Linked DNA regions of Homo sapiens: regions 1, 2, 3, 5, 6 and 7 are each linked to region 4. Evidence: promoter capture Hi-C in 16 types of primary human blood cells and fetal thymus (Javierre and others, 2016). All regions are on one chromosome and are shown on one strand. The core of a region is centred on a gene start or on the middle of the fragment in contact, and the rest is flanking DNA. Distances in the headings are between cores, read along the strand shown.

Region 1 (2,700 bases), core at 121-2,620, 460 kb before region 4:
ATGTCTCAGAAAGGAGATGATGTTACTGCTAATATCGCATGGGGTGTACACCCTCTGTGATACTATTATTCATAATATTTAGAAAAGGAGATGACGTTACTCCTAATATTGAACAGGGTGTATATTCTCTGTGATACTATTATTTGTAATATACAAGGAAAGATATAATGTTACTCCTAATATCGCATGGGACGTACACTCTTTGTGATGCTATTATTCATAATATCCATGGGAGGAGATCATGTTCCTTCTAATATCACATTGGATGTACACCCTCTGTGATGCTATTATTTGTAATATCCGAGGGAGGAGATGATGTTACTCCTAATATTGCATGGTTACACCCTCTGTGATGTTATTGTTCGTAATATCCAAGGGAGTAGATGATGTTACTTGTAATATCCCACGGAATGTACACCCTCGGTGATACTATTATTCATAATATCCAAGGAAGGAGATTATATTCCTTCTAATGTCACAAAGGTGTACATCCTTGGTGATATTATTATTCATAATATCCAAAAAAGAAGACTATATTATTCCTAATATCACAGGGGGTGTACACCCTTAGTGACATTATTCATAATATCCATGGCGTATGATGACATTGCCACTAATATCACCGTGGGTGGTCACCCTTTGTGACATTATTCATAATATTCATGAGAGATAATTATATTGCCACAAATATCCCCATGGGCGGACATTATGTGACATTATGTCACATAATGAGGTGACAATATGTCACCTCTGTGACATTATTCGTAATATCCAAAGGAGATGATGATGTTGCCCCTCGTGGGTGGACTCCCTCTGTGATACTTTTTGTAAAGGAGGATTATAGAGTGAGCAATATATTTTTATATATTTGTTGAGGGTCCCTAGCAAATATTATAACATCTGAACTATGAAAGCCTGGCTTGACAACTAGAATTTTAAATAACACTTGTCTTATTCACAAAATGTTATAAAGCTTAAGATGGAAAAATATAAAATGCTTTGACATTACCTAAAGAAGCATGAGCTCTTGTTAGGTATATGATGGTGGCCCTGAACTTGAGCCGACATCTATAATCCCTTTTATCAATCAAAAAGCCATGTTCTTTTATATGGCATGCAGACTATTAAAATACGAAAATGTGATAATGGATAAGCAACTAACACAAAGCCCCCACACTTCAAATACTGTCCTGGATTGATGAGGGAAGACTGGTTGGTGTGGGGGTGGGGGAGAATTCAAATATTTATCTGCAATCCTAATGGTTAAAATTTTACCAGGAACAGACCTGCCACTCTCTTGAAATACTGTCTCTGAGATTAACGTTAAGAACAGCATCATCTCTGTTGAAAGGCTACATTCCCTTATGATGCTGATTTTTTTTTTGTATGTTTTTGTTTTTTGTTTTGTTTTGTTTTGTTTTGAGATGGAGTCTTGGCCAGCTGGAGTGCAGTGGCGATCTCGGCTCACTGCAACCTCCGCCTGCCAGGATCAAGCGATTCTCCTGCCTCAGCCTCCTGAGTAGCTGACACTACAGGCACGTGCCACCACGCCTGGCTAATTTTTATATTTTTAACAGAGACAGGGTTTCACCATGTTGGCCAGAATGGTCTCCACCTCCTGACCTCGTGATCCACCCGCCTCAACCTCCCAAAGTGCTGGGATAACAGATGTGAGCCACCGCACCCAGCCTGTGTATGTTCTTTGTGTTTACCGTACCAAAAGCAGACCTGAGCATTTTGCTGGCCTTAGAGGTCTATAAAAGAACTCTAAGCTTAGGCATGCAGAACAGGCACTGGATGTATGTAGTGAGCTTACCAGGAGTCTTGTTGGCTCCCTGATGTCCTTATCATCTCTCTTTGCAGGCTGTGGATGCACACAAGGCAACTAAAATCTTGGGCATCGTTTGAAAATGTTTGGCTGCCTGCTACAAACTCAGAAGAGAGAACACTTACTTATATTCATACTTGTATTGGACTGGATATATTTTAAATCCAATTCTTTTTTAAAAAAGATGCCTCACTTTAGGAAATAAGACATCAGACCAGCAACATCAACTAGGTATGGAATACTTGCTGGTGAGACACTTAAAACTAGGAATCTTCTAAATCTTCTAAAGGTGCTTAAGAGCATGGAGAAATCAATAAACAGGCATCCAAGTGTTGTGGCTGTAAAGCAATAACATAGGGTCCCTAGTAAAGAGTAGGCCTAAGAGTTGGTTTTGGAGAGAACTTGGGCCAAGAACAGCAGAAAAAGCTAAATGAGCTACTTATGTTGATGTGTTTTAATACTGGTGCATTCGCAGTATCTTATGGAAGTTGTGAACACTAAGAACCAATTTCAAGAAAAATAAAAATGTTTATAGGGCATATTAAAATAAAAACAGCTTAAATTAGTTCTGTAAATAAAATAGGCCTAGCACAGTGACTGATGCCTGTAACTCCAGCACTTTGGGAGGACAAGGTGAGAAGATCACTTGAGGCCAGGAGTTCGAGACCAGCCTGGGCAACAAAGTGAGACCCCATCTCTGTTCTTTTTAATATCAAAATTATTATAATAAAAAAGTAAAAATAAATGTACCTACTTAGAACACATATTAAATAAAGGAATGCCATGAGAAAATGGCACTGCATTTACCAAGTCACCACTAGATTCTTGTGCAATGATAAAGTTTGAGACTATGTATTAACAATTTCATAAAT
Region 2 (2,700 bases), core at 161-2,660, 490 kb before region 4:
TAGCCCATTGTGGTGGTGCATGCCTGTAATCCCAGCTACGTGGGAGGCTGAGGCAAGAGAATCACTTGGACCCAGGTGGCAGAAGTTGCAGTGAGTCTAGATCATGCCACTGCACTCCAGCTTGGGCAACAGAGTGAGACACTGTCTTGAAAAAAAAAAAAAAAGAAAGAAAACATTGATGCAGTTTTGCTCTGCCTAATACAGCCTGTATGGAAGGTCTCCGTGGTCTCCTTGCTTTCATTCCTGGCCCTGCCTGCCTTCCACACCCACTCACAAATTATCCTCTGTAGCAGAGGGATCTATGCAAACCATAAATCAGGTCACTCAATATAAAACCATACCTGCAAGTACCTTCCCAAGCCAGTGCTTGATCTAAGTTGTTTCAAGTAGGGCCTAGGAATCTTATATTGTCTAATATGTCCAGGAGATTCTAACTTAGCCAAGACTGAACACCCCTGGCCTAGAGCTGTACTTCTCAAAATTTAACTTAACGGGTCTCTGAACTACACTTTCTCCTGGACAGCCTCTTTAGTAGGCTTTCTACTTCCTCTCTTGTTCCTGCATGATCTATTTTTGATATGCTGTTGCCGTTTGATATGCATGTTGTCCAGGAGACCCATTAAGGCTGAGTGGATCCCGATATGCTGCATTTCTAACAAGCTCCCAGGTGGTGCTGGTGCTGCCTCCCGAGGACTATACTCTGAGCAGCCAGAGCCTAGAAGGGAAAAACATTGCTCCCCTCTACCTAAACCACCCTTGTTCATCATTACTAGCAACTATATTTTCCACCCTTTACCCAACCTTCTGGACCTGGTAATCTGCAGCCAGCCCGCTCAAGATTGCCTGACAGGACCTTCAGGGCAGACTTTTATAGATGAAAGAATGACATAATGATGGTGCGCACTAGGAACAGATCAGAATATGTGAGAAACACTATTTTTTTCCCAGTGTACAGCAGGCTTTCTTCTGGTAAAATTAAGCAAAACTCAGCCCTGCCCTGCCCAGTTAGAGACTAGTTCATCAAGGGGGCAGGTTGAAATTTAGCCACAGTACCCTCCTATGCCTGATATGCAACTAAAAAGCAGTGACTGTCAACCTTTTAACTATCATGACCTCCCTAAGGAGCCTTTTTAGACTTTTTTTTTTCCTGATCACACCCTCCGTATAAAATGTCAATACCACAGATATACGATATATATGGTTATGAACTCTTGACCTTTGTAGGACTACAAACCATTAAATGAGACCTAAGAATTTTTGGCCGCTCCCTGTGGGCAATACAACCCTCATTGAGAATGCATGATTGAGATCCATTCGCTCATTCCAGTCAGCTAGATTCCAGGCCTGGTGTGTAGACCACATGTTTGGACACATTTCTCCAGCTTTCCCTACCAGGCCAAGTGGTGGAGAGGACACTATCTTTAGAATCACACAAATCAAGTTAAAACCAAGCCTCAGCCATTTACAAGTTGTAGGACTCTAAGCAAGAATCTTTACCTCTCTTATCCTAAGTGCCCCAACTGTTAAATGGAATTAAAATACTCACACTGAAAATTTGCTGTAAGGTGTAGAGGTGAGGTAATGTTCCTGTAAAGTATAAACTGTAGTGTCCAGGGCAGGACAGGTATTCAAGAAATAGTAGTAACTGGCCATAATTTAGTGGTGGCCCTCCACAGCTTTCTATTTCCTTTGAGATTAGATTCATTACACCTGGGCTCAGTAGCGCCTTGATGGCCCAGTACACCAGCCCAGTACAACTGCAGAGTTAGATGTCTCTCTCGTCATGCCCCAGTGCAGAAAAAAGAAAGACACACCTTCCCTAAGTATCTACCTGAGAACCAGGGCATCTTGAAGCAGTTCCGGGAGTTTGATTAAAGTGGAGTGGGGAGCTGAGAAGGATTTGTCAGCACAAGCAAAGGTACAATCTGCATCCAAGGCCACTGCTATCAGTTTGTAGCCCTGACCCAGTCTCTTCGACTCAACACTACCCTTGACGCCCATCTTCTGGATAAGAATAAGCCTAGTCAGCCTACGTCTACCACACTACACTTTATCTCAAATGCTCCTGGACAATCTGACTACAGTTCCATTTCAAGAATCATCTTTAACCTCATTTGCCACATTGGTCCTAATTTGTCTTTTGAAATACACTTCCTGCCAAACAGTACTAGCTATCTGTTAGAGAGCAAAGAGATTTTCCATTTTCTCAAACTACCCGCCACCTAGTTTATAACCTCAACCTCAGTGTTTATCCCAATTTTGCAGAGTACCATTGATATGCTTAGGCCACTCAAATCTCATCTTGAATTTTAATCCCCAAAATCCCCACATGTCAAGGGAGAGACCAGGTGGAGGTAATTGAATCACGGGGGGCAGCTTCCCCAATGCTGTTCTCCTGATACTATGTGAGTTCTCATGAAATCCAATGGGGCTCTTCCCCCTTTGCTCAACCCTTCTTCCTGCCACCTTATGAAGAAGGTGTCTTGCTTTCCCTTCACTTTCTGCTGTGATTGTGTTTCCTGAGGCTTCCCCAGCAATGCTGAACTGTGAGTCAATTATACCTCTTTCCTTTATAAACTATCCAGTCTTGGGTAGTTCTTTATAGCAATATGAAAATGGACTAATACAACTATTCAAAGCTGTCATTGAATATCTTCTCCTGTCAAGCTCCCAACCACAACAGAAAGAGTGAATCAGCTC
Region 3 (2,700 bases), core at 52-2,551, 440 kb before region 4:
TGTAGAGACAGGGTCTCATCATGTTGCCCAGGCTGGTCTGGAACTCCTGGGCTCAAGTGATCTGCCCACCTCAGCCTCCCAAAGTGCTGGGATTACAGGTGTGGGCCACTGTGCCCGGCCTATAATATTTTAAATTGTAAAATTAAAACATTAATAAGTTTCTAAACCTGAATCTAACATGTGGCTTTATGTCCTGATAACTCCACATGATGTTACGATGATTAAAGGAGTAAATTCATGAAAAACACTTAGGACAGTGTCTGGCACAAGCTAAGTGTTCAGGAAATTATTATTATTAGTGTTGCATCTTAATGGTCTCAAGCTATTATTTTTCACCCATCATATTTAGTGTAAAATAGAATTTGGCCCTGGGAATCAATGACCACATACATGGTATAACTAATCTCAAATATTTAAATTGACTAAGATATCTATGTTTCATTAAGGTAATCTTGGCCCATAGAGTCTAACTAGATCAATCGTTTACAATCATTAAAAGAAAAAAAAGTGAAGCACATAATGCAAAAACATTTCACAGGACTCCATGTGATATAAATTATATAAATTGTTATTTTGTTTTATCCCCTAGCTGAAAAAAATACATAAAGAGTAAAAGCTACCATAAATCCTCTAATGCTTTGAAATTAATTTGTATTTTGTTTTTGACAACGTATATTTGAAAATTTATATTTGAGCCATATTCATTCACACGGCAGTTAAGCTTGTAGAATATACAGATTCACTGGCGTTTTAATAGCTTAATGAGCTCCTGGGAAGCCATGGCTAGCCATTAGGAATAATGAGTTAGAAAGGTCAGCAAAACCTTTTCTGCAAAGGGCCAGAGAGTAAATATATTAGGCTCTGCTGGCCATGTATGTCTCTGTTGAAACAACTCAACTTTGCCATTGTAGCAGTGGGCAACATGTAAACAAATGGGTGTAGCTGTGTTCCAATAAGACTTCACTTTCAAAAGCCTCAGCCCACACTGAAGGTGGGGAGGTTATGCAAAGGTGTAAATGCCAGGCAGCAGGCATCACTGGGAGTCCTCGCAGAGGCTGCTGGCCACATAACCCAATGCTCACGATCCCCAAAGTGTATTTGGAGGAACATGAATTGTTGATGTGTTTGGGAATTTTTTTGAAGCTGCATTTTATATTTAAACTATATTTTCAAAATTTCACACAGGAGCTTCAATCAAGCTGTGTAATAAGTATATGGGAGTCATTTATATTATTCTCTATAATTTATTTGTAATATATCAAAACAAAAATGCCTCAAAAATATACAGTAAAAGAATCAAACACATTCCTAGAGTTGTTTTTATGAACAATCTGTTTATATAGTGCTGGTTTATGTTTTATATCTTGTCATAATTTTAACATATGTTTAAGTATGAATGTTTATATAATAGTAAGTTTCTCTCATAGACCATCTCTCTTCTGCTTACCACATTTCCTTTAACACCCTAATTACAACGACTCTGAGATTCTACCTGAAAAATTAGCAAGATGCCCCCACATTCTAGCTTTTCTCTCCACAAATATTGAGGAAAGTCCCAGCTTTGTTTACACATGTCCTTGAGTCAGACCTCATTGCCACCTACTGATGTGATATAATTTGGGTGTGTGTCTCCTCCAAATCTCATGTTCAAATGTGACCTCCAATGTTGCAGATGAGCCTAGTGAGAGGTGTTTGGGTCACGGGGGCAAATCTTTCATCAATGGCTTGGTGCCATCCCAATGGTAATGAGTGAGCTCTCATTCTGGCAGTTCACACGAGAGCTAGGTTATTTAAAGGAGACTGGGACCTCCTCCTCCCTCTCTTACTACCTCTCTCCTGCCATGTGATATGTCCACTTCCCCTTTGTCTTCCACTATGAATGGAAGCTTCCTGAGGCCCTCCCGAAGCAGATGCTGTTATCATGCTTCTTACACAGAACTATGAGCCAAATAAACCTCTTTTCTTTATAAATTACCCAGCCTCAGGCATTCCTTTATAGCAATGCAAGGTAGACTAACACGTGATGCTCATTTTTTTTTAAAGCCTGCAAACAGTAAGAAGATTCCCCTCTCTTTCTCAGTGGATGTAAAGCAGTGATTCTGCATAAATGTATCAACACTATAGCTCAACTCCTTCTGGAGTGGACTTCCCCTAGACCTGGAGAGCGAGTCCTGCCTAGCATACACGGCCTGAAGTTCGAGATCTCTTCCAATTCAGGTAATATTCCGCTTTCTGTATGCCTGATCTCTACATATATCTGACATTGATTTTTAACTCAAATGAGGAAACAGGAAATTATTAATTACAATCTCCTAAAACTACAACAGGTGTTATAAAACTTCTGAATATAAACAGGCAGACAGCAAAAATGTACACAGGCATAAAATGTAAACTTGAGTGAGAAAAAGGAGCTGAAAAATGAAAGGCTCGCTTTGAAACAAAACAGCACTGAAGAGTCTACAAAGAGAGAGTGACTGGAGAGAGACTGATGTGGGAGAGCAGAATGGGGATCAGATTATAATGAGTATCTCTCCCACACTAAGGAATTTGCAGCTTTTTTTGATAGGCAATAAAGAGTTACATATAACAGCTGTATTTAAATTGTTCCTAGGTGATGGAGCTGCAGGTAATTCTTTTCTTCTTCCTTTTTGTATTTTACTTTTTCTTTTTTTTTTTTTTTTTTTGAGACAGAGTCTCACT
Region 4 (2,700 bases), core at 65-2,564:
TGGAAATAAGAGGCTGAGAACTGAATTCCATTGAGAACTGAGCAAGATTTTATAAGCAACATAATCAAGCAACTCTTCAAAACCCTTCATGTAAGGTTTTAGAAATACTGGCTTTAAATAAAGATTTATCTTTTCCCAAAACTAAGCACCTGCTCTTACTGTTTTCTTGGCATATAATCATGAATTTGTACCTGATCCCTGTATATATGATATTCACAAACATAACTTTTCCATTGACAATAATCCCAGTATCTCATATTTTGTTCTTATTTGCTCTGACATTGTTAATCTAGCTCTCCCAAACCAAAGTCTTGTTATTTCTTTCTGTTTCCCTATTGTAGCCAGAGGACATTTTCATACCTCTCTAGATTTGTTTCTCTAGCTTGTTAGTTCTACTGCTTCCCTGAAATATCTTTCTCGTTTATTAATTTGGCATCTTGAGAGCCCACTCATTTCTAATCACTTTTTACCATGTTTTATTTTGCCTCTGTTTTTAATAATTCTCACCTTTCTCTCTTTCTGATGTCACGTACAAGCAAAATAGGTTTCAGAGGAAACAGTGCCATTAGTTAAGTGAAAGAAATGTGAACCTCTGTGTTTACTATAGGTTACATTTTATAAATGCAGAAACAATCATAATTATTAATCAAATACCGTAGTTTTACTTTTGGCCTAAAATTTATTTGGGGTAAATATCAGGATCAGTAAATAAATCCAAGATACTTTATTTTTTATAATTTTTCAAAAATAAAATGATCTTATATCAGAGTTCACCAACTTTAGTTACAATGTTTGCATCTCAGTTTCTACACAAATAGAAAATGATTGAATAAAGACTTTATTCAAATTGACAAATTAGCCAAGTTGTAAAGTATTCTATAACTAATTCTGAATTGTAAACCCTGTTCCAAATTAAGAAAAAGATGTCCTAAAATATATTAACATCGTTGTAAAACAATTTAGAAGACTGTAAATTAAAAATCCATTTCAAAATAATTTTAAGTTTTAAATTTCTACATTTTAACAATGTTAATATTTTTCTAATAATTGATTTGAAGTAATTGCAGAGAATACAAACTATTGACAAGCTTTCTCACCTAATAATTATGTAAGTAAGTCATTTAGTCTTCCACAGTTCCTTGATGGTCCTATCTGATTTCAAGTGACTAAAATAAATCTGTTATGTCTTACCTTATAAAGTTTGTCAAACAGGAATTAAAGACTAGTTGAGTAAATGCCAACAGCAAGGACTGTGGTTGGGGGTGAAGTTAGCTATTTGATATTGTTCTGTTCTGTGGGAAATAAAAGTGTCTTTGCTTTAGGATCTTTTGCAGTCTTTTGTTCATGTTTATTCGACTAAGTCAAAGCAAGAGTGGTCAGGCATTTGGCCAGGGTGCAAGATCTGGGTGGGATCAGTAAGCAATTTAAAGGAACAGTGTCCTTTCAGAATGAGACTGTGTTTTCCAGACTATTGTAAAAACAACTTGAGAGAACTTTCTACATTTTAGGCATTGGTTGACAGCCTGCCTTTTTTTCTCATGCTATGTCCTTCTCTTTTTATTGCTACATTTCTTTGCCTGGGGGATGTGCTCTAAGATACTGGTTCTGAACATCTCTGTGAAGGAGTATAAATGACACCAGACTCAGAATCAAAGCTGTTTTTTTAAGAGAGGTAACAGTTTGATTGTTATTAAAGCTGGATGATGAGTACATAGGTGTGCATTGTTCTAGTCTTTGTATTTCTGTGATTTTTGAAATTTTTTATAATAAAAGGTATATATAATATACAGGGAAAGAGTGGTCTGAGTATAGTCATAGTTCTGCCCCTAACTTTTATGGGGGCTTCAGTTCCCCACTTATGAAATGAGAGAGTAGATTTAATCATTTATTAAGATGTGTTCGAACTGTAACATGAGAGGTTTACAGCGGTTAATATTTTGGTCTCTCTCTAGGAAAGGATCACTGTGGTTTTTCCACTCCCTGTTTCCCTATTTTCTACCTTGTGGTTATGGTCCATATTAAGTCAATGTTTATCATGTAATATATACTGCCAAGAAGCCACCTGACCCCTAGACAGCTAACAGGCAGGCTTCTCCACGGACTTCCTCTGAAATAGAGAATAGCAAGATCATCCGAGAAAGCAATACAAATGTGCATGTTACGGTTATTTAAAATGAACTTTCTTAGCCATTTTAATGTGTATGAATTTCCTTATTACAGCAATAATAGCCTCCAATTCATGGACACTTACCAGGTGCTAGGCACTGTCCTGAGTGCTTCACACACATTACCTCATTTAATCCTTCACAAGCACAACCACCTATATACAGTAAGTCCTCACTTAATGTCCTCTGTAGGTTCTGGAAACTGTGACATAAAGTGAAACAATTGATAATGAAGACAATTTTCCCAAGAGCTAATTGATATAAATAAGAGTTAAGCTCTTATGGCATATTCCTAGTCACAAAAACATCACTAAACCTCTAAATACTCAAAACACCTCTAATAATAAACATTGAAATAAATCTAAGCTATATATACATTTATGAAAGATTGATAAAAACAAGATAACTGCTTACCTGCATATTCCAGTTCAGGGTCACGGTTGACCAGATCCTGTCCCAGCAGCTGAGGATACAAGGCAGGAACCAGCCCTGGACAGGATGCAGTACTGTCAAAGGGCACTCATACACCCACCCA
Region 5 (2,700 bases), core at 64-2,563, 410 kb before region 4:
AGATGGTTGCAAATCATTTGCTATTCCTGCTATTGAGTTTAATTCTCCTCACTTTGAATCTGGAGCGAGTCTTAGTACTTTGCTTTACTAATAGAATGTGACAAGTGATCCTCTAGGACTTCCAGTGTGTCTCTTAGAATGCTTGCTCTAGGGGAAACTAACCATTATGTAAGAACTCCAGGTATCTGGGACCACCATGTATAGGGAAGCCCAAGATATCCCCCTGATAAATCTGCATAGACATGGCACTAGGCCTAGCTATTCCAGCCGTCCCAACCAAGACATCAGACATGTGAGAAGAAGTTGTCTGGCAGCATCTTGGCTACCTCTGTGAACATGAAGTAGAGAAGAAGCAAGGAATCCAACTAACAGCCAGAACCAAGGGTTCACACCTATGGTCCCAGGTGAACTATCCTAGCCAACTAACTAGATATGACTTAAAACAAGGTAGTCAGCCTGTCTGTGCTACAGATGAGTTATCTTAAATGAGATTATGTCAGTTGTCATTCTTATGTCTCTCTGAATGCTGGAATGAAGAAAATAGTGTGAGCAGAATAGTTAACATAGCAGGCCTGAGCCTGCTATCCTTAGAAAGGCCCACTTACAAGATCAGCCCTTAGCTGGCATCTGGGAACTTGGCTGGTAAAAAGTTTCCTGCACACCTTTAAAAATTTGCCTAAATAACAAAGGTGACTCACTATGGCTATACTGTTTGTGTAAACAGCATGTTTATGGTGAACACCTCCCTGGGAGGGGAGCCTGGAATTTTGGTATATGGTAGGAAGAGGGTTCCTATTTGACAAGCCTTCAATAAAAGAAACCTTGGACACCAAGTCTCTTCTGAGCTGGCCCAGTAGAAAGCACTTTGCATGTGTTGCCACAACTCATTGCTGAAGGAATTAAGCCACTCCACTATGAAAGAACCCTTGGAAGCTTGTGCCTGGTTTTCTCCTGGTTTTGCCTCATGTGCCTTTTCCCTTTTTTGATTTGGCTTTCTATCTTTTCATGGTAATAATATCAGCCATAAGTACAAATACATGCTAAATTATTTGAATCCTTTTACCAAATCATTGGAAATGAGGGGTGGTCTTGGGAACCCCTGACACACAGCATTCTAAAAATTGTGAGAGAAAAGTTGGGAGAAATGAGATTGCTCTTCTACTTTCTTTTTACAGAAGGAGATTTCTCTCCTACCTTTCCCATGTTCTTCCTCTTTTCTTCTTCTTTCCCAGAATATGCATGCTGGACTTCCTTATTTATTCCCCACCAAAGTCCACAGTGGCCTGTGGACATAAACATAACTCTCAGAGACAACACTCAGTTCCTCAGCCCTGGAAAAGCTATGTAACTGCTATCTTGCATACAAATACAAGATTGGTTTCGCCTGTATTTTACTTTTTATCTAGTTGTGTTTACTTTGTAGGGGTATAGTATACAGACCTTTATCTTATTGGGCTAAAGATATTGAAATTTATTTTTAAAGCATTTACCTAAAGACTAAACTAATGATAAAAAGTGTTTTCCTTGCAATTACATAGCAGCCTTCTTATATTTTTGGCTAATCTCTAAAAGAACTGACACTACAGCAGGAATGTATGTCTACCGCATAAAATCTATGCAGCATCTCCTGCTATGTAGTATATCCTTCTCATATCATACAATATGCATGACTTATTTTCAGATGATTTTCCTGATAAGCTTTGTGATTATATTTTGACAGGTCTGAGTATCGTTTCTTTAATCTTGGAGAATGACAAGAGCTTAGGCACTATGACAAGCAAAGTTCTTGGATTTGGCTCTAAAAATTACTGACTGAGCACAGTATATTTTAAGAATTCATGCAAGAAGCCAGTAAACTACTGAGAATTGTGTGCAGGAATTCTGTTAAGTACTTAAAATCACGTTGTAGACATAGAGACTGAGAGTTAGGAGACCAAGTTGTGACCTGGTCTATGTTTTAAAGATATGGCCTTGGGAAATAATTTATCCTAATGGGACCTCTGTTACACCAGCTGTAAAATGACAGGTTTGAGTGAATCATTTTTTTCCATCTCAAACATTCTATGGTTCAATGATAATAGAAAGTGTGGGATAAGTGTCAAATGAGAGGATACAAGTGTATTTCATAGGAGGAAGAAGTCCCCAGAGGCTGAAATGAGAGACTTTAGTTGGCCAAACAGAGAGAGATACTTCTGGGGAAAGGAGCTTGAGTGAAGGTAAAGAGACACAGTGCACTTTGTGGGATCTTAGTGAAATGTCAATGTGCAATAATAATGATATTAATAATAGTTAACCTTTATGGAGCACTCACTAAGGTAATATGTGTTATCTCATTTAATTTCCACACCAATCCTAGGTATTATTATTATTCCCATTTTACAGAAGAGAAAACAGGCACAGAAAGATTCAGAATTTGCATGAGGTCAAATAGCAAGTGGTAGAATCCACATGTGAACCTAGGCAATCTGATACTCCAGAGAGTAACTTCTAATTACTGCTGTGGCAGCAATGCATGTAAGTCAGAAATAAAATGCTCCATAGAAGCACTATAGTTTTCGTGAATTTGACTGGAAAACTAGCAGTTTTGATAGGCTGTCATCAAGAAGAATAATGATAGTTACTATTTATGTAGTGCCAATTGTGTGCTTTTCATACATTAGTTCTAAACCTCACAGATGTTTTTGCTTTAAATGACCATTT
Region 6 (2,700 bases), core at 116-2,615, 500 kb before region 4:
TTTCATGTCTAGTTATAATTGTTTTATAAATTTGGGAGCACTCATGTTAGGTGTGTATAAATTTAGGATTATGATATTTTTCTGTTGGACTGATCCTTTTATCATTATATAATGTCCCTCTTTGTCTTTTTTTAACTGTTGTTGCTTTAAAGTCTGTTTTGTGAGATATAAGAATAGCTACCCCTGCTCACTTTTGGTTTCCATTTTCATGGAATATCTTTTCCCACTCATTTACCTTAAGTTTATGTGAGTCCTTGTGCATTGGGTAAGTCTCGTGAAGACAGCAGATACTTGATTGGTAGATTTTTCTCCATTCTGCCATTCTGTATCTTTTAAGTGGAGCATTTAAGCCATTTACATTCATTGTTAGTATTGCGATGTGAAGTACTGTGGTATTCATTTTTGCTACTTGTTGCCTAAATCCCTTTTTATAATTGTATTTTGTTTTCTAGGCCCTGTGAGATTTATGCTTTAAATAGGTTCTATTTTGGTATATTTTGAGGATTTGTTTCAACATTTAGAACTCCTTTTAGCATTTCTTGTAGCACTGGATTGGTAGTGGTGAATTCTTTCAGTATTTGTGTGTCTGAAAATGACTTTATCTCTCTTTCATTTATGAAGCTTAGTTTTGCTACAGCCAAAATTCTTGGCTGATAATTATTTTGTTTGAGGAGGCTAAAGATATGACCCCAATCCCTTTTGGCTTGCAGGATTTCTGCTGAGAAATCTGTTATTCATCTGATAGGTTTTCTTTTATAGGTTACTTAATGATTTTTGTCTCACAGCTCTTAACAATCTTTCCTTTATTTTGACTTTAGATAACCTGATTACTATGTGCCTGGGATTACTATCTTTCTGCGATGAATTTCACAGGTGTTCTTTGAGCTTCTTGTATTTGGATGTCTAGATCTTTTGCAAGGCCAGGGACATTTTTCTCAATTATTCCCTCAAATATGTTTTCCAAACTTTTAGATTTCTCTTCTACCTCAGGAATACCAATTATTCTTAGATTTGGCCATTTAACATAATTCCAAGTTTCTTGGAGGCCTTCTTCATTTTTACCAAATTCCTTCTTCTTTGTTTTTGTCTGATTGAATTAATTTGAAAAGCCTTGTATTTGAGCTCTGAAGTTCTTTCTTCTACTTGTTTGATTCTATTGTTGAAACTTTCCACTGCATTTTGTATTTCTCTAAGTCTGTCTTTCATTACTAGAAGTTGTTATTTAAAAAATATATATATACACATATATATACTTATACACATATATACATACATATATATATAGACACATACATATATATATATATAATACGTGGAGCATTTTTCATCCATATCCTGTTTTTTTTAATTTAAGTTAGTCTCCACCTTTCTCTGTTATCTCCTTGAGTAGCTTAATAATCAACCTTCTGAATTCTTTGGCAATTTAGAGCTTTCTTCTTGGTTTGGATCCATTGCTAAGGAACTAGTGTGGTCTTTTAGGGATGTTACAGAACCTTGTTTTGTCATATTGCCAGACTAACTTTTCTGATTCCTTCTCATTTGGGTAGACTATTTCTGCACAAAAGTCTGGAACTCAAGGGCTACTGTTCAGATTCTTTTGTCTCATGAAGTGGTCCCTTGGTGTGGTGTGTTCCCCCTTTCCCTAGGGATGGGGCTTCCTGTTAGCCAGACTGCAGTGATTCTTATTGCTCTTCTTGGTCTAGCCACCCATTTGGGCTACTGAGCTCTGGGCTGGTGCTAGATAATGTCTCCAAACAATCCTGTGATGTGATCCATCTTCAGGTCTCCCATTCATGGATACCAGCACCTGCTCTGGTGGAGGTGGCAGGGGAGTGAAGCAGACTCTGTGACAGTCCTCGGTTGTAGATATTTTTAGTGTGCTGGCTTCTTAAATACTTGTTACGCTAGCAGTGAAGTTGTTACATGGACACACTCAGGACACACTCTGGTTAGCCAGGATGTTGCGGGCAGTGGAATTAGCTGTTGCCTTGTTCTTCCTGGGATCAGGCTTATTTTGTCATGAGTTGCTATAAGGATCTGAGTTGGTTGGCCTCCAGCCAGGAGGTGGTGCTTTCAAGAGGGCACCAGCTATGATAGTAGAAGGTGGATATAAGCTTGCCCTAAGTTGACCAGGGTAACTATTTGGGTTTCTCAGGCAATGGGAAGGGTCATAAAGCTCCCAAGAGTTTATATTTTGTGATACGCTACCAGGACAGGTAGAGAAATACCATCAGGTGGGAGCAGGGTTAGGTGGGTCTGAGCTCAGACACTTGAGTGGGGCTTGTTGTGACCACTGTGGGGGATAGGGGGTAGTTCTTGGGCCAATAGGCTTATGTTCCAGAGGAAATTATGGCTGCATCCGTGGCTAGGGAAGTGGTGGAAAGGCATTAGTGATAGGCCTTACCCAGTTCCCACGTGTTGGTGAGACTGGTATCTTTTCCACTGTACCCTGCTAACAGCGCTAAGTTTGTCTCCAGGCAGCCTGTCCACAGGACTCAGACCTTACCCCAGACTATAAGTTTCCCCACTGAGAAAGCAAGCAAGGCTTTCAGGCCATGCCCCTTCCTGTCTGTCCACACTGTCTGCCTCAACTCCTGCTCTACTCTTTGAGGCAATTCCTGTTCACCCCCAGATTCTGCTCAAGAAAGTTTGCACCCAGTCAAAATTATTACATAGTTCAGTTGGAAGCTCCTTTCATGC
Region 7 (2,700 bases), core at 22-2,521, 430 kb before region 4:
AATGTCACTTCTAACAGGCGTAGAGGCCCCCGGTTTATCTTGGAACCTCAAGAGGAGAGAAAATTCACCCAACTCACAGGTATTTGATGGCACAAATCCATGGCTGGGCTCTGCTTTAAAAACATCTTATCTGGTATTCCTTCTATGGAACAAGGTTCCATCAAAGCCAATATAAAGCCTATGTAAAAAATAATTTTTTTTGCACTGTATATAAGTAATTAGGCCAAGTATAATAAAGCAAACCAATCCTACCATGATTTGTCTTTAGCAAAAATGGGAAACTGGAGAGAGAAAAATTATGTTTCAAAAACAATTGTACACCTGTTGTTAGATTCTAGTCTTGTCTAATGTTTTTCAATTTTTATTATTTCTACAGTTTGGGCTAAATTCTAATTTTCTCTTGACTACAAGTCTTCAAAATAATGTTTTCAATTTTTTTTTTCTTTTTTTTCCTTCTTTTTTTTTTTTTTTTTCAATTTTTCCTAACTGGGAGTCACTGAAAACCAAGCTGTGCTTTCTTAAAGCCCTGCAAACTGAAACTAGACAACTTAAAGTTCAGAAGAAAATAACAGCCACCTATTTACATGCATAAGCCACTTTCATACCTGCTACTGATTTATAGACTTCAGAGTAGTGGGGCCTATATTGATTTTCCAGGAGTGTTCTTTTGTTTGTTGTTTTTCTCCCTTCTTCTTCCACTATTTGCTCTTCTAGGAATAAACCATCCTAGCCATGAAAGATCAGGTGAAACCTGAGACCAGAGACTAATTTTCTAGTTAAATGCCATCTCCAAAATATTTTTAAAAAGAAAAGAGGGTAAATGTGAAAGGAAAACAAATCTTGAGGCCCCCAAATCACTAAGCTAAAGGGAAAAAGTTATGCTGGGAACTGCTTAGGGCAAATCTGCCTCCCATTCTATTCAAAGTCACCCCTCTGCTCACTGAGATGCATAGCTGATTGCCTCTTTTGGAAGGACTAAGCAGAAGCTCAAAATAATGCAACCCTTCCTGTCTCACCTGTCTTTTTACATATATTGACTGTACTTCTTATATATATTGATTGATGTCTCGTGTCTCCCTAAAATGTATAAAACTAAGCTGTACCCCAGCCACCTTGAGCACATGTTGTCAGGACCTCCTGAGGCTGTGTCATGGGGACATCCTCAATCTTGGCAAAATAAACTTTTAAATTAACTGAGACCTGTGCCAAATTTTCAGAGTTCACAGGAAGAAAGACAACCCTCCTTTATACGTTGCTCTGGGCCTCTGCATTGCCTGGATGGGAACTCTGGGATAGATGCTTTTAGAAGGGTCTACTGAACCCATGAGCCATTCCCTTCTCTGGAAATGGCTCCCCAAGTAATAGCTTGGGCTTCTAGGAATCCTGTTGGTAGTCTGTAACTCCCTACTCATCTGGATATAGTTAATTGGAAAATTTGACCTAGTTTGAGCTAATCATTTTTCTTCTCAGGAATGTGGAATCCAGACCAAAGGAAAGCCAGCCAGTCTATTTTCATGGCTGTTAGGTACAATTTGTATGCTTGGGAGCTGTGGAGTTGCTGTATTCTGTCATAAGGGCAGATCAGCAGAGAAAGCTAAAGCAAGAGGAGAATAGTAACATGGACACAAGGCAGAAATGCAGAGATCAAAGATGGAAAGAGAATATATCCCAGATTCCTAATGGCTTTCCAAAACTGATCCCCTTCTTTCTTGTTCCCCAAATACTGCCCTCTTCATATGGCCCTTAAATTCTTGTAATAAATTCTCCCTTCTTTGTTTAGGCCATTTCAAATTGGTTTCTGTTTCTTGCAACCAGACACCTTAAAAAAAATAAACTCAAATTTTCTTTCATGCTCCCTTTTTGCATGGTAATTAAGAGCATAGAATGTGGAGTAAAAGAGATAAAACTTTAAATTTCAGCTCCTTCATTCACTAGTTGAAAACCTAGTAGAAAAACTTAATCACTTAAACTCTCTGAGCTTTAATTTCCATATCTGGAAAAGGGGAATACTTTTAGCTATCTAAAAGCATATGGGTGTCAAACAAATATAACGACGTATATAAAATGCTAATTATAGTACCTGGCACAAAAGAAATACTTAATTAGTGGTAATAATGATTACATATTTATTCAATAAATACTTATCGATTACTAACTATACAAAAGTTAGATGACCTGAAGTGTACAAATATATTCAAGATTTAATCTCTGCTCTCAGACATGTACATAAATATCCATAATAGAAGACATTATAGAATAATAAAGGGTACATGAATGTTTTTAAAAAACAAGGACTCTAGGTCATAATCAAAGAAATGCAAATTAAAACCACAGTGCAATGCCATCAGAATCAGAAAAATAAAATAGATTAAAGGCCGGGCATGGTGGCTCACGCCTGTAATCCCAGCACTTTGGGAGGCCAAGGCGGACGGATCACGAGGTCAGGAGATCGAGACCATCCTGGCTAACATGGTGAAACCCCGTCTCTACTAAAAGTACAAAAAATTAGCTGGGTGTGGTGGTGGGCACCTGTAGTCCCAGCTACTCGGGAGGCTGAGGCAGGAGAATGGCATGAGCCCGGGAGGCGGAGCTTGCAGTGAGCCGAGATCACGCCACTGCACTCCAGCCTGGGTGACAGAGTAAGACTCCGTATTAAAAAAAAAAAAAAAAATAGATTAAAGATTTTTCTAATTTTTAAAT

Evidence for each region. The method cuts DNA at HindIII sites, captures the fragments that hold promoters and counts their contacts. A CHiCAGO score of 5 or more calls a contact.
Region 1: a contact is called between a fragment that was not itself captured here and the fragment with the promoter of COL28A1 in region 4, in 3 of 17 cell types (total CD4 T cells, non-activated CD4 T cells and naive CD8 T cells). The highest score is 6.6, in total CD4 T cells.
Region 2: a fragment that was not itself captured here is called in contact with the fragment with the promoter of COL28A1 in region 4 in 1 of 17 cell types (total CD4 T cells); the score reaches 5.8 in total CD4 T cells.
Region 3: a contact is called between a fragment that was not itself captured here and the fragment with the promoter of COL28A1 in region 4, in 17 of 17 cell types (total CD4 T cells, total CD8 T cells, naive B cells and 14 more). The highest score is 31.8, in total CD4 T cells.
Region 5: a contact is called between a fragment that was not itself captured here and the fragment with the promoter of COL28A1 in region 4, in 13 of 17 cell types (total B cells, activated CD4 T cells, total CD8 T cells and 10 more). The highest score is 15.6, in total B cells.
Region 6: a fragment that was not itself captured here is called in contact with the fragment with the promoter of COL28A1 in region 4 in 14 of 17 cell types (naive CD4 T cells, total CD8 T cells, activated CD4 T cells and 11 more); the score reaches 10.2 in naive CD4 T cells.
Region 7: a fragment that was not itself captured here is called in contact with the fragment with the promoter of COL28A1 in region 4 in 17 of 17 cell types (total B cells, naive B cells, total CD4 T cells and 14 more); the score reaches 34.5 in total B cells.

Annotation. Positions count from the first base shown.
Region 1 is chr7:7,075,039-7,077,738 of GRCh38, forward strand. The region is part of intron 1 of LOC105375138 (a long non-coding RNA gene); the gene reads left to right. It also overlaps the pseudogene LOC100131257. Among named protein-coding and RNA genes, the nearest start is that of MIR3683, 9.3 kb to the left of the region's middle. The HindIII fragment of the contact is 799 bases long and covers 972-1,770 here.
Region 2 is chr7:7,046,403-7,049,102 of GRCh38, forward strand. The region is part of intron 1 of LOC105375138 (a long non-coding RNA gene); the gene reads left to right. Among named protein-coding and RNA genes, the nearest start is that of MIR3683, 19 kb to the right of the region's middle. The HindIII fragment of the contact is 7,534 bases long and covers 1-2,700 here.
Region 3 is chr7:7,092,915-7,095,614 of GRCh38, forward strand. It overlaps LOC105375138 (a long non-coding RNA gene), which reads left to right. Exons shown (of 5, transcript XR_927009.3): 2 at 2,044-2,217. It also overlaps the pseudogene LOC100131257. Among named protein-coding and RNA genes, the nearest start is that of MIR3683, 27 kb to the left of the region's middle. The HindIII fragment of the contact is 1,165 bases long and covers 720-1,884 here.
Region 4 is chr7:7,534,559-7,537,258 of GRCh38, forward strand. It overlaps COL28A1 (collagen type XXVIII alpha 1 chain), which reads right to left and starts at 1,315. Exons shown (of 35, transcript NM_001037763.3): 1 at 1,192-1,315. The HindIII fragment of the contact is 1,663 bases long and covers 1,087-2,700 here.
Region 5 is chr7:7,126,703-7,129,402 of GRCh38, forward strand. No RefSeq gene overlaps it. Among named protein-coding and RNA genes, the nearest start is that of C1GALT1, 54 kb to the right of the region's middle. The HindIII fragment of the contact is 765 bases long and covers 932-1,696 here.
Region 6 is chr7:7,030,384-7,033,083 of GRCh38, forward strand. The region is part of intron 1 of LOC105375138 (a long non-coding RNA gene); the gene reads left to right. Among named protein-coding and RNA genes, the nearest start is that of MIR3683, 35 kb to the right of the region's middle. The HindIII fragment of the contact is 1,493 bases long and covers 620-2,112 here.
Region 7 is chr7:7,109,426-7,112,125 of GRCh38, forward strand. It overlaps LOC105375138 (a long non-coding RNA gene), which reads left to right. Exons shown (of 5, transcript XR_927009.3): 5 at 18-1,850. Among named protein-coding and RNA genes, the nearest start is that of MIR3683, 44 kb to the left of the region's middle. The HindIII fragment of the contact is 4,408 bases long and covers 1-2,700 here.